4 separate regions of the Homo sapiens genome follow, and all the other regions are linked to region 2. Evidence: promoter capture Hi-C in 16 types of primary human blood cells and fetal thymus (Javierre and others, 2016). All regions are on one chromosome and are shown on one strand. Each heading gives the region's core, a stretch centred on a gene start or on the middle of the fragment in contact. The rest is flanking DNA. Distances are from core to core; before and after follow the strand shown. Region 1 overlaps RALYL (RALY RNA binding protein like). Region 2 holds the start of LRRCC1 (leucine rich repeat and coiled-coil centrosomal protein 1). Region 3 overlaps RALYL (RALY RNA binding protein like). Region 4 overlaps RALYL (RALY RNA binding protein like).

The links. The method cuts DNA at HindIII sites, captures the fragments that hold promoters and counts their contacts. A CHiCAGO score of 5 or more calls a contact.
Region 1: a contact is called between a fragment that was not itself captured here and the fragment with the promoter of LRRCC1 in region 2, in 1 of 17 cell types (M0 macrophages). The highest score is 5.5, in M0 macrophages.
Region 3: a fragment that was not itself captured here is called in contact with the fragment with the promoter of LRRCC1 in region 2 in 1 of 17 cell types (M1 macrophages); the score reaches 5.5 in M1 macrophages.
Region 4: a contact is called between a fragment that was not itself captured here and the fragment with the promoter of LRRCC1 in region 2, in 1 of 17 cell types (M0 macrophages). The highest score is 5.2, in M0 macrophages.

What each region holds. Positions count from the first base shown.
Region 1 is chr8:84,621,677-84,624,399 of GRCh38, forward strand. All of the region lies in intron 2 of RALYL (RALY RNA binding protein like), which reads left to right. Among named protein-coding and RNA genes, the nearest start is that of RALYL, 440 kb to the left of the region's middle. The HindIII fragment of the contact is 6,465 bases long and covers 1-2,723 here.
Region 2 is chr8:85,105,816-85,108,563 of GRCh38, forward strand. LRRCC1 (leucine rich repeat and coiled-coil centrosomal protein 1) reads left to right here and starts at 1,423. Exons shown (of 19, transcript NM_033402.5): 1 at 1,423-1,584. The coding sequence starts at 1,481. LOC105375933 (a long non-coding RNA gene) reads right to left here and starts at 2,047. Exons shown (of 3, transcript XR_929117.3): 1 at 1,744-2,047. RefSeq lists an enhancer at 1,535-1,594. The HindIII fragment of the contact is 5,185 bases long and covers 1-2,748 here.
Region 3 is chr8:84,638,261-84,640,976 of GRCh38, forward strand. All of the region lies in intron 2 of RALYL (RALY RNA binding protein like), which reads left to right. Among named protein-coding and RNA genes, the nearest start is that of RALYL, 460 kb to the left of the region's middle. The HindIII fragment of the contact is 2,194 bases long and covers 258-2,451 here.
Region 4 is chr8:84,657,425-84,660,131 of GRCh38, forward strand. All of the region lies in intron 2 of RALYL (RALY RNA binding protein like), which reads left to right. Among named protein-coding and RNA genes, the nearest start is that of LRRCC1, 450 kb to the right of the region's middle. The HindIII fragment of the contact is 1,573 bases long and covers 568-2,140 here.

The DNA.
Region 1 (2,723 bases), core at 159-2,658, 480 kb before region 2:
TAAAAGGCTTTTTCTAATTTACTTCAAGGTTTCCTATCCTAATGTAGACTTAGGTTAGCTGTAGCCTTGTAGGATTTAAAGAGAGAATAGATTGTAAGAGATGAGTTCTAAATTCAGACAGATTCTCAAGGGCATGATTCTTATGAATATGTATAATGTCAACTCTAGCCTATGTGGATTTCTAGTCCTTTGCAGTGCTAATTTAGCCATTATTTTCAAGCTCTTTTTCTATGAAACCAATTTACTATGACTTTTTGGTAAGGCTTTTATAACATTTGCTAATTACAAGGTGACATCTGCATAATTATTAATTATGAAGTTACATCTGCATAATGAATATTACCAATAATTTAACTTAAATGTTTCAGTTAAAACTTTAAATGCATGGAATTAACCAGAAGTCACAATGAGTTGCTACTGTATCAGTTATAGAATTGAGAAGGAAACAATTCAAGACAAACATAGTAGTGAATGAAAATTTGAGCTTTAACACTGCATGAATGAGAGGAAAGATGAGTTTGATGCCACAAAGAAAAAGGGGTCATACGTGGTAATAACCTGGTAGAGAGTTAAGAGAAAGTCTCATCCCAAAGTATATTTCAGCATGAAGGGCTTGTTAAAATTTATTCTAGGAAGAATATAAAAGTGTTTGCTTTATTGGTAATGTTAAAGAAATCTACACTGTGATTTTCTTTGAGCTCAGAATTCAGCCTCAGATATGAGCATCGTTTACTAGGCCAGGCTATGTTCTAAGTATTTAAAAATTTTGGAATCTTATCTGAGCCACTAAATTTTGAGCAGATTTTACAGAGAGTGGCATCATTTCCTAGAAAAACAGCAGCAACAAATGTGGGGAAAAGAGGGATGTCCTCAGGGTTAGTGTGTCCAGGGATCAGGACAACGCTCCACAGAGTCGAGGGGCATTAGTACATATAATTATTCCAGGGAAGTCTCTCTCAGAGGCCATAAGACCAATTTCTATTTAGTTTCCTTGCTGTCATATGGAAGAGATTGAAGTCTGCTGGCATCAATGAGGTAAGGACTCTGCCATCATAAAGTCCTGTGGATTATGGAAAGCCCATGTAGAAAATAATGGGAAATAAAGGAAACAACAATACTGTTTAATTTGAAAAATAGACATATCTGTGTCTCAAGATGTAAGAATTGACGAGTACACACCAAGTCGTTGTTATCTACGTGGAAAAAAATAGTAAATGTATTTATTATTAGAGGATGTGAAGTTTGGTTGTGACAAATTAAAGACTGCACCTTTTTGAGATAGTCATGTAACATTTTCAGTGACTATCTCTTAAGGCATTGTGCACACCATACTGCTTAAAATTCAAGATCCTTGTGACTGAAAGCCAGTTCTGATTATAATAGACACAATTCTCAATGCTAAGTTCTAACAAATTAAATGTGTCCCTGAATGTGACAGTAAAACTTCTAAGTTTTATTCCATTTTCAAAGATTAGCTCAGTTCCACTTGTCAGCTGGGACATGCTGTTAGATTTGTTGTTTTATTGTATTGTTTAAATGTTCAGTGGGCACAAGTTTTTCATAGGTAAAGAATTAATGTGTCATGTTATCGTGACACATTAATTTTAGATACATCAGTCTAAAAGCATGAAAGTTTATTTTGATCCAGTTCACCGCATAAAATAATCACTACCCATTTTCACTTCAAAGGGCATATCTTGATATGTATAGAAGGATAGTGTTGAAAATAATTGTGTTTATGAAATTAATAAATCTCCAAAGTAGTGGTCCAAAAAATATTTTACCCCTTAGGTCATCCTACTGTCCTGTAAGTTACCAACAGTAAGTAGAATTAAATTTACATACTCTTAATATTGAGATGATTGCTGACCTTGAGAATAATTATTTTAGAGAGGTAGGGAGAGGAAGTTGTCAATTGGGGTGCATTAAGGGGAGAGTATGAGATGAGAACATGAAATGAAAGAATACAAACAGCAATTCGAAGAAGTTTTTCTCTAAATAGGAGCAGGAAAATCATGTGGGAGTTGATGGTGAGGAGGGATGTTGGTACAAATAGTTACCCTTTCACATGATGAGGACTATCACAAATATGCTGTGGGAAAAAAAGAGTGAGAGGAAAAAAAATTTAAAATATCCTTGAGCAAATCAAAGAGCATGGAATCCAAGCCTAAGCAGAAGGATTTGTTTCAACAGGAAGGGACCAATGGCCCCATCATGAACGTGGAAAGTCTGACCATCCTAGGTACATGAGGTTGGTAGGTCTGATAGTGGGAGATGAGATACTTCTCTTTCGACTGGTACTATTGTCTGTGTGAAATAATCACTTGAATAAACAAGTCTTGACAGAAAAGAGTTGAAGTTTTCACTTTGGGTTATTGTTAGTCTTTAGAGATCATCATATTCAACATCCCTCTCTGTCCAGGAATCAGATGAATAGTGCTCAGATATTTTGAACATGGCCATCCAGCAATGAGCAGCTTAGTTTTTCAAGGACAGCCCTTTCTGTGTTTAGACATCACTAATTTTTAGAAAACCTTTTCTTACTGTACTAGTTCTCTACTGCAGCTCTAACAAATTACCACAACTGAGCTGCTAGAAACAACCCAAGTGCATTATCATACAATTCTGTAAGTCAGAAGCCTAACGTGGGTTTTACTGGGCTAAAGTCAAAGTTTCAGTAAGTTTTGTGTTCCTTTTTGGAGGCTATAGGAAAGAATCCTTTT
Region 2 (2,748 bases), core at 173-2,672:
TAGACTGGATAAAGAAAATGTGGCACATATACACCAACATGCAGCCATAAAAAAGAACAAAATCATGTCCTTTGCAGCAATATGGATGCAGCTGAAGGTCATTATCCTAAGTGAATTAACACAGAAACAGAAAACCAAATACCATATGTTCTCACTTCCAAGTGGCAGCTAAACACTGGATACACATGAACACAAAGATGGGAACAATAGACACTGGGGACTCCAAAAGGGGGAAGGCAAGAGTTGAATAACTACCTATCAAGCGCTATATTTACTATTTGGGTTACAGGATCATTAGAAGCCACAACCTCAGCATCGTGCAATATACTTATGTAACAAACCTGCACATGTACCCCCGAATCTAAAATAAAAAGTGAGATGAAATTTTTTTTAAAAGAAAACCTTTTTGCATTGTATCTGTTTGGGAACCTTTGGCCTCCTGTGCCTGGGTGTCTAAATCTCTTGCTAGACTTGGGAAGTTTTCATATAGTATTTTGTTGAACCATTTTTCCAACTCTATTGTTTTCTCTTTGCCTTCTGAGACTCCAAAATTTTGAATATTTGGTCACTTTATGGTGTCCTACATGTCATGTGGGTTTTGCTCATTTTTTAAAACATCTTTTTTATTTTTGTCTATATGAGTTATTTCAAAAGGAAATAGTCCACTTCAAATGGACTACTGCACCATTTGCTCCGTTTTAAAATATTACTATGCCTTAGGAAGCAATCTAGCCAGGAGGGTTATTTGACCTCACACAGGTATTGCTTTCCCACCTGTAATGCCATTCATCCAGAACTCCCCCTAACCCAGCAAGACTCTATTCAGTCATCAATCACTTCTTTTAGAAAACGTACCCACTACCCATATCACTCTAGAGTTGGTTTCGATGCCCTTGTGTTATTCTTAGCATTCGTCATACTGTATGGCAATTCTGTTTCCTCTATGGGGCTGCGAATGTTTCCAGGAACAAGAATAGGCTTCATCTTTTTCTTCCTCATACAGGGAAGTGACTGACATACAGTAAGGCATCCCACAAATTGTTCAATGAATCAACAGGAGGTGCAATGGCCAGAGGAACAATTTATACGTATGTAAGGCTATGTAAAGGCACGTAAAGCCAAACCGCTGTGAAAACCGCCTTCAGAAGTCAGTCGGCTACTAGGCAAATATACAGAAGCACACAGGACAAATCCATTCATTCTCCAGCTCCTACACGCCCGGGAAGCAGTTTTACTTTACAGCAAGTTCAAGAGTCGCACCGCAGATGCTGTAAAAACGAAAGAAGCCCACAGTTGGGACGAGGATTCCAGTTTTGCGTCACCGTCAAGGCGGGAAAGTTCCCGGCTGTCGGTTGGAGGGTGGGTCCTCGCCCCGCCCCGCCCCCTCGGGCCGCCCTTCCGCGCTTCCGGGAGGCTTGTCCCAAGCTCACGGACCCCTCGCTGGGTGCCGGTTAAGACCCCGCTCCCCGTCGCCAGTGCTATGGAGGCGGCGGCGGCGGTGGTGGCGGCAGAGGCGGAAGTGGAAAACGAAGACGGCGACAGCAGCTGCGGGGATGTATGCTTCATGGACAAAGGCTTGCAGAGGTAAAGGGCGCTCCGCAGCCAGGAGCGACCCGCGCACTCCCCAGAGCCGGGGCCACGAGTGGCTGGCGGCGACACCAGAGTGGAGGCGCGGCACTGCTTTACCAAGACCATAAGTGAACGCAGTCTGGCTTTCGGCCTCCCCGCTCCTCCAAAACTTACCTGCCGAAGTGCCAGGTTGAATGAGCCGTGGATGCCTTCCCGCCCGTGTCTCCTGCCCAGCGTTTCACACGACTCTGCTTAGCCTAGAAACTGCCCCAGGACCTTGTCCTCCACCAGCTTCTGACCACTCTTTCCTTCTGCTGGTTTTCCTTACTTACTGGTGGTTATTCCTTTGCTTGCCGTTTAATTGCTGGTTTTCTCGTGTTCTCTCGTCTTTCCTGTTCTTACCTCTGAAAAAAACCTGCAGGATAGTATCTCTGGCAGCTATGAGCGGGCAGTCGCTGCTGCCTGTTAGTTTTGCCTCAGTTCTCCTTGTCTGCATTCGAAATCATTTGTCCGTTACAGAACATTGCAATACATATATTCATATACTTTTTGAAAGTACTAAACTTACTATATTTAGTTCATCGTTTCCCTCTCTCTTGAAGCCCTGACTTGTGCAAAGCATATGAGGCACTTGGTTCTGTAATACTGTAAAGCAGGTCTCCACCTGCATTTCAGGCTCTTTAGTCTCGACCCGTAACATTTCTCCACTTACACTTTATTTACCTGTACTGAGCTACAGGCAATTCCATAGCAGACTTCTCTGTGCCTTTGCACATGCTGTTCCTTTGTAGCGTGTCCTCTACGCGAACTCTGCTACTGATAATTAAGCATCTTGTTCTGGATTCTGATTTAAACTTTGCCAGATGATCCCAAGAAGATGCTGTTCAAGGGACATTTTACATTTCTATTTAATACTAGCTGCCATTTACTGAATGCTATCTGTTGTGTGCATGTTATATACATTATCAGTAATCCTCACAGCAATTCTACAAGGTAGTAATTTTTCTCATTTACAAGTGATGAATGAGACTCAGAATCTATTGACAATTTGTTCATCTTTATACACTTCATGAAGAATTAAGTTCGGATTCAAACCCATTTTCCGTCTAATTTCACTATGCTTTTTCTATCTCACATTATCTGCACATTATTAATGTCGAGAAACTGAAATGTGTCAGA
Region 3 (2,716 bases), core at 105-2,604, 470 kb before region 2:
AATGATAATAGTGACACAACCTATCAAAACTTCTGGGACACAGCAAGTGTGGTGCTAAGAGCAAATTTCATAGCCTTAAATACCTGCATCAAAGTCTGAAAGAGCACAAATGGACAATCTAAGCTCACACCTGAAAGAACTAGAGAAAGAAGAATAAACCAAACCCAAACCCAGTGGAAGAAAAGAAATAACCAAGATCAGAGAAGAACCAAATGAAATTGAAACAATAAAAAATGCAAAAGATAAATGAAACAAAAAGCTTGTTCTTTGAAATAAATAAATAAAATTGATAGACCATTAACAAGATTAACCAAGAAAAAAGAGAAAGCCAAATAAACTCAATTAGAAACAAAGTAGGAGATTAATAGCAGAAATTTGCTGGAGCATTATGGTGTAGGGAACTAAAAGGTTCTGAGAAAGTCTGTCCTCAACCCTATGCAGTGTACAGTGGCAATAAAATCCTTAGCAACCAAGTTAAACAATGAGCAGAATACCAGTTATATTGTATATGAGAGTCTTATCTGTATTAAGAAGTTAACTAAACTATGTTGTTATGGAGTCCTGAGAAAAGACATCTATAACAGAAATACGAGTATCTAATGCACGCATAAATATATATATATATATATATATATATATATATATATATATATATATATATTCTCTCACAATATAACCCATATATATGTACACACACACACACAGACACACACACACACACACACACACACACACACACACAGATGGGATGGAGACTCAATATTTAATGTATTATATTAGGCCTCATGAGTCAAAAGGTCTTTTTAGGATATAAAGGCATGCAAATGTGCACTTTCTGTAAACTGGGCAGAACTAGTCCATGGTTGGTGGTCTTTTCTCGGGAGAAACTTACTGGAATTAATATTTTATTTAATTAAAGCTACAGTTGCTTGTGCAATAAGGGGCTGTGGGGCAGTTAACTTATTGACTGCTAGAGAAAAAGAAAAAACATATGGCAGTTAGAACATAGAGAAAAAGAAAAACCATATGGCAGTTAGAACATAGTTTATTCTTTAAGTGTAGGAGCCTGTGACTTACCCCTGCCTGGCATGGTCTTAGGTCCTGTTTATAATTTTGTGTTTTGTTACAACAAGCCTTTTCTGTCAACCTTATGATCTCCATTTTAATGTTAATGCTGATCAGTTGTGTCTAAATCAAAAAAAGTGAGGAAAGGTATAGTGAAACTTGTCTGACTCTTTTCTTGCTGTCATGGCCTGAACTGGTTTTTTAGGTTTCTTTGGGATTTCCTTTAGCCAAGATAAGGGGTCCATTCAGTCTGCTGGGGGACTTAGAATTAATTTATTTTTTGTTTATATTCTCCCTTTTTTGTCAAAGTATACCAGAGGCAGTGCTGATGGCCAACCTTCTATTTTGTCCCATATCAATGCTGAGGTGGTGTGATACCTGCCCCTGGTCCATCATACACCTTGGTGGAATCCTTATGGCCAAGGACCTTAGAGTCAAAAGAATTAAAGCCAATTAAATGCTCTAAGCAAGACAGGCATGAAGGTGGGAAGGCACTCATTAATCCTTAAAACCCTTTTAATCAATATAATAGGCAAAATCCAGAAGCCAAAAAATAAGGTCATAAAGTGGACTTATCTATAAATTCTGTGCATTTAGCTACTGTGATGTGATCTTGGCTTGTAGAAATTAGCTGTCCAAAACACAAATAGTTTGTTCAGCTGTTTAGGCATCTGTGTGCCCATCCCTGACTTGGAGGGTCTGAATAAATTTGTATAGCTTTGATAAGCCCCAGCTATAAATGAGAGACTTAATTTAGGATTTGATCTTCAAGATGTTTGTCAAAGATGTTAAAAGGCTCAAAATATATTATTGCAACAGAAACATAGGTCATTGTAAAACAATAGTTACTCATTTAACCCAAGTAATAATCAAAAGACTTTAAAGGCAATACAGGAGGTTACATAGATGTAAAACATTAATTCTTTTAAATATCAGTTTTTTAAGGAATTAAAAACCTAATAAAGAGTATAGGAATTATTTTGATAAAACCTAAAATGTTGTCTCTTAAGCGAGTTATCAGAAAGGCAAAGAAAAACCTGCAATGTGACTGCTTCTTATGGGAAGCCCATTTACATAACCTGAAAATTAAATCTGATGAAAAAGTACTTGAATTTAATCAGACATCAGAAGATTGTGTTAAGATTATGAGTATAGCAGGGGAATATATAATTCTTAGTAACTGCATAAGAAGTTTTCTGATTACATTCAAAAATTTAGACATATCAAGAAAAGCCAAGATGACAAAATCAGGTTATACTGGAGGAAAACATTGCTTTTCTAGACCCTCGAGATAAAATGTTTTCACATCAGGCCACAACAATAGTTACAACTGGAGGAAAAAACTTACAGAAGCTGATGAAAAAGCTGAAGGAAAGAGTCACCTCAAGCTTTCTCAAGGAGAGAAAAAGCTAAAAACAGTGTGACACCACAGAAGCTGAACTTCTGAGGTATGATTCTGAGAAGTTTTCAAAACAGGATATAAAATTAAAAATCAAAATCTGAATTTTATTAAGAGCCAATTAATATCTTAAGAAAATCTCATTATAACACAGGGGACCAATCTTATAAAGACCATTATAACTAGTTCCCTTCTAATTATAGTCAACTGAATTATATACAAAACTTCTTTTATAATTTTTCTTTCATGAAC
Region 4 (2,707 bases), core at 104-2,603, 450 kb before region 2:
CGAAACTGGTTATGGTTTTTTAGAATATTTCTTGTTGGGGCTGACAGAAAGCACTCATGTGCATACCTTTCTCCTCAAACAGTGCATTAGTAAAGGGGCTTTCTAGATATACGTTACCAAGTTCAAAGAGAATAGGAAAGCATCCATCTGCAGATGAATACCTTCAGTAGATTTCTACAAGATAAAACTTTGGTGGAAGAAAGTCGAGTGAAAAAACAAATCAGAGAAAGAACACTCTAATAGAAGTGCAAAGAGGCCACTTGAGGAAGTCTTCTCTAAAACTGGGGGGATAAATCAAGAAAGAAGATGGGAGATCCAGGAAACTGTGGACCTAGCTCTAGATGAGATGTTGCAACAGGGCTACAGAGCTGTCAGTCCTGATTGGAGTAGATTCCACCAAGTCAATCAGTGGGCTGGAGGAGGGAGGATTTCAGGAGATAGTTCACCGTTTGATATAGATTGCTGTCCTTTTACTTTGTTAAGTACACCTATGAGAAACAAAAATGAAATCCTAAGCCTGCCAACTGACTGAATGGATTCTGTCTTGGTCAAGGGGATCTCAGGGAAAGCTTGGAAGTTGAGTTCCCAGCAATAACAGGATGGGAGGTTGGACACCATCTCCCATGTGCAATGAAAGTTTTCATGTCCCTTGCTTCACCTTTTGACACCACAGGGCTGAAAACTGTATCCTCGAATTATGCTAACCCATTTTTGGAACATGGGTCCCATAGAGAGACATGAAACTCAACTGCACATGCCCACATTTCTCTACTTATAAATATTCATGACTCTTCCTATAGTTTATTGAATATGTGTATTTGGCCAGTCTATTCAACATAAATCCCTGTCATATTCTTCTGACCCTCAAAAAGTGTGTTTCTGGCTTCTGGATGGAGGTTACACTTCCTGGCCTCTCAGAATGGCTACGCTGCAGGCTGCAACCTTTATGAAAAGTAAAGCTCTCCTTTCCAAATTTATGAAATTTATCATTCTTCAGTTGATACATCTTTTTAAATTTATGAATTGTATCTCCCTCTTAAAATTAGAAAGGTGTATGCATAGGAAATTGTGGATAAACTCTGTAGTTTTAGAAACAGCAGTAAGTGTGCTGAGGAACAACTGAGTCATCAGTACTAGTGATCCCATAGAACACGGTTCCAACAGTTTGTGTAAGATGATGGATAGACAGATAGCCTGAGTGGAAAACTGACAATCCAGAGCTGATGGTCTCTCTGCTTGGAGATGAAGCCTCTTCGTATATGAGCTTACACTTATAAAAAGATATAAATAAGGAAAAGTGAAGTAAAAGAAAAACCCATGTTGATACTCTGTGGCTAGAATTTGTCATATATGGTGTTGAGAGAAGAGGGGACGTATTGAAAGAGGAATTGGGGTAGGGAAAAAGGAGGGAACTACATCTCAGTCTCATATTAAGCCAAATTCTCCTTTTGCCTTTTGTCTCAGTTTGCGGCTGGATATGGCTGCCGTGAAAACACAAGGGCTCTCTAATAGAAAACAAAACAAAACAAAACAAAAAACTGAAAGGAGCATTGCTAAGTTGACTCTGACTTGTTTCCAGGGAAGACAGCTTACTACAAGTGGGATAGATTTTTCTTCAGTGCTAGTGGTTTCAGGCTGTATAGGCATAATGTTTAATGGCATATTTCCAGGTTACTGACCAAGGAGCTAGTTAGACTAAAACAGCATTGTTGCAGAGTGGATTCTCCAGGAAACAGACACTGAGATGGAAATAAGATTGTAGAATGTTTATTAGAAACTGTGTAGAGATCAACACCTTTTAAAAAGGGGTGTGGGGAAGCAGCATCAGGCAGAGAGAGAAGTGGAACTGTGATGTGGCATCAACACCTTAAGCTGTTGATCAACAGCTTAAGCTGACCCAGAGGAAGTTCTGGAGTTGATAGGGTCTGGCTGCGGTGTTCCCCATTAGGCCAAATGTGAGAGAGCCATTGTACCCCTCCCTGGATCAGACATCAGATGAGGGCCACCCCTGAAGAGTGAGCCTTTGGTCAATGGAAGGCAATCAGAAAAGGCTGTTTGATAAAGAAAGGTAGCTTGTTGCAGCACTAAAAGCTGCTGAGGCCCGCTCTTCCTTAAAGGGGACCTAAGCAGTTTAATAATAAGCTTAAGATATCAGAAGAACTTGACAAAGATGCAGCAAATACAAGAAAATAAAAGAAAGGCTATAAAATATGTGATAGTGGACTAGGAGTAGGTGGAGGCTCAGGGCAAACTGCTAGAAAGGAAATATGATCATGTGGCTTTACCTAGTCACAATAATATAAATATCATGTATTGCTTTTGCCATTTATATTCAACCTGTTGAAATTTGGAAGATTTGTGACTACAAGGCTATAAATGAATGCATATGATCCCCATATTAATCAAAATTTAAAATTATAGATAACCGATATTTTGAAGTTGAAGATGAAAAGGAGTGAAAAAGAGTAGGATTACTAATATCATTAAAAGATAAAGTTAGAAATCAGTAAATACTGTCTATATGAATAGGACAAGAAATAGAGGTTTAAGTATATTATTCTGATTTACAATGATTACCAATAGGGAGAGAATAATAGAATAACACTTTGAAGAATAGTAGAAGTATCTATTCCACGAATATTTGGTAGGTGGTTACATTTGAAGTGATATAGGCATGGCACTTTACAATTTTCTCAATTTATTCTAC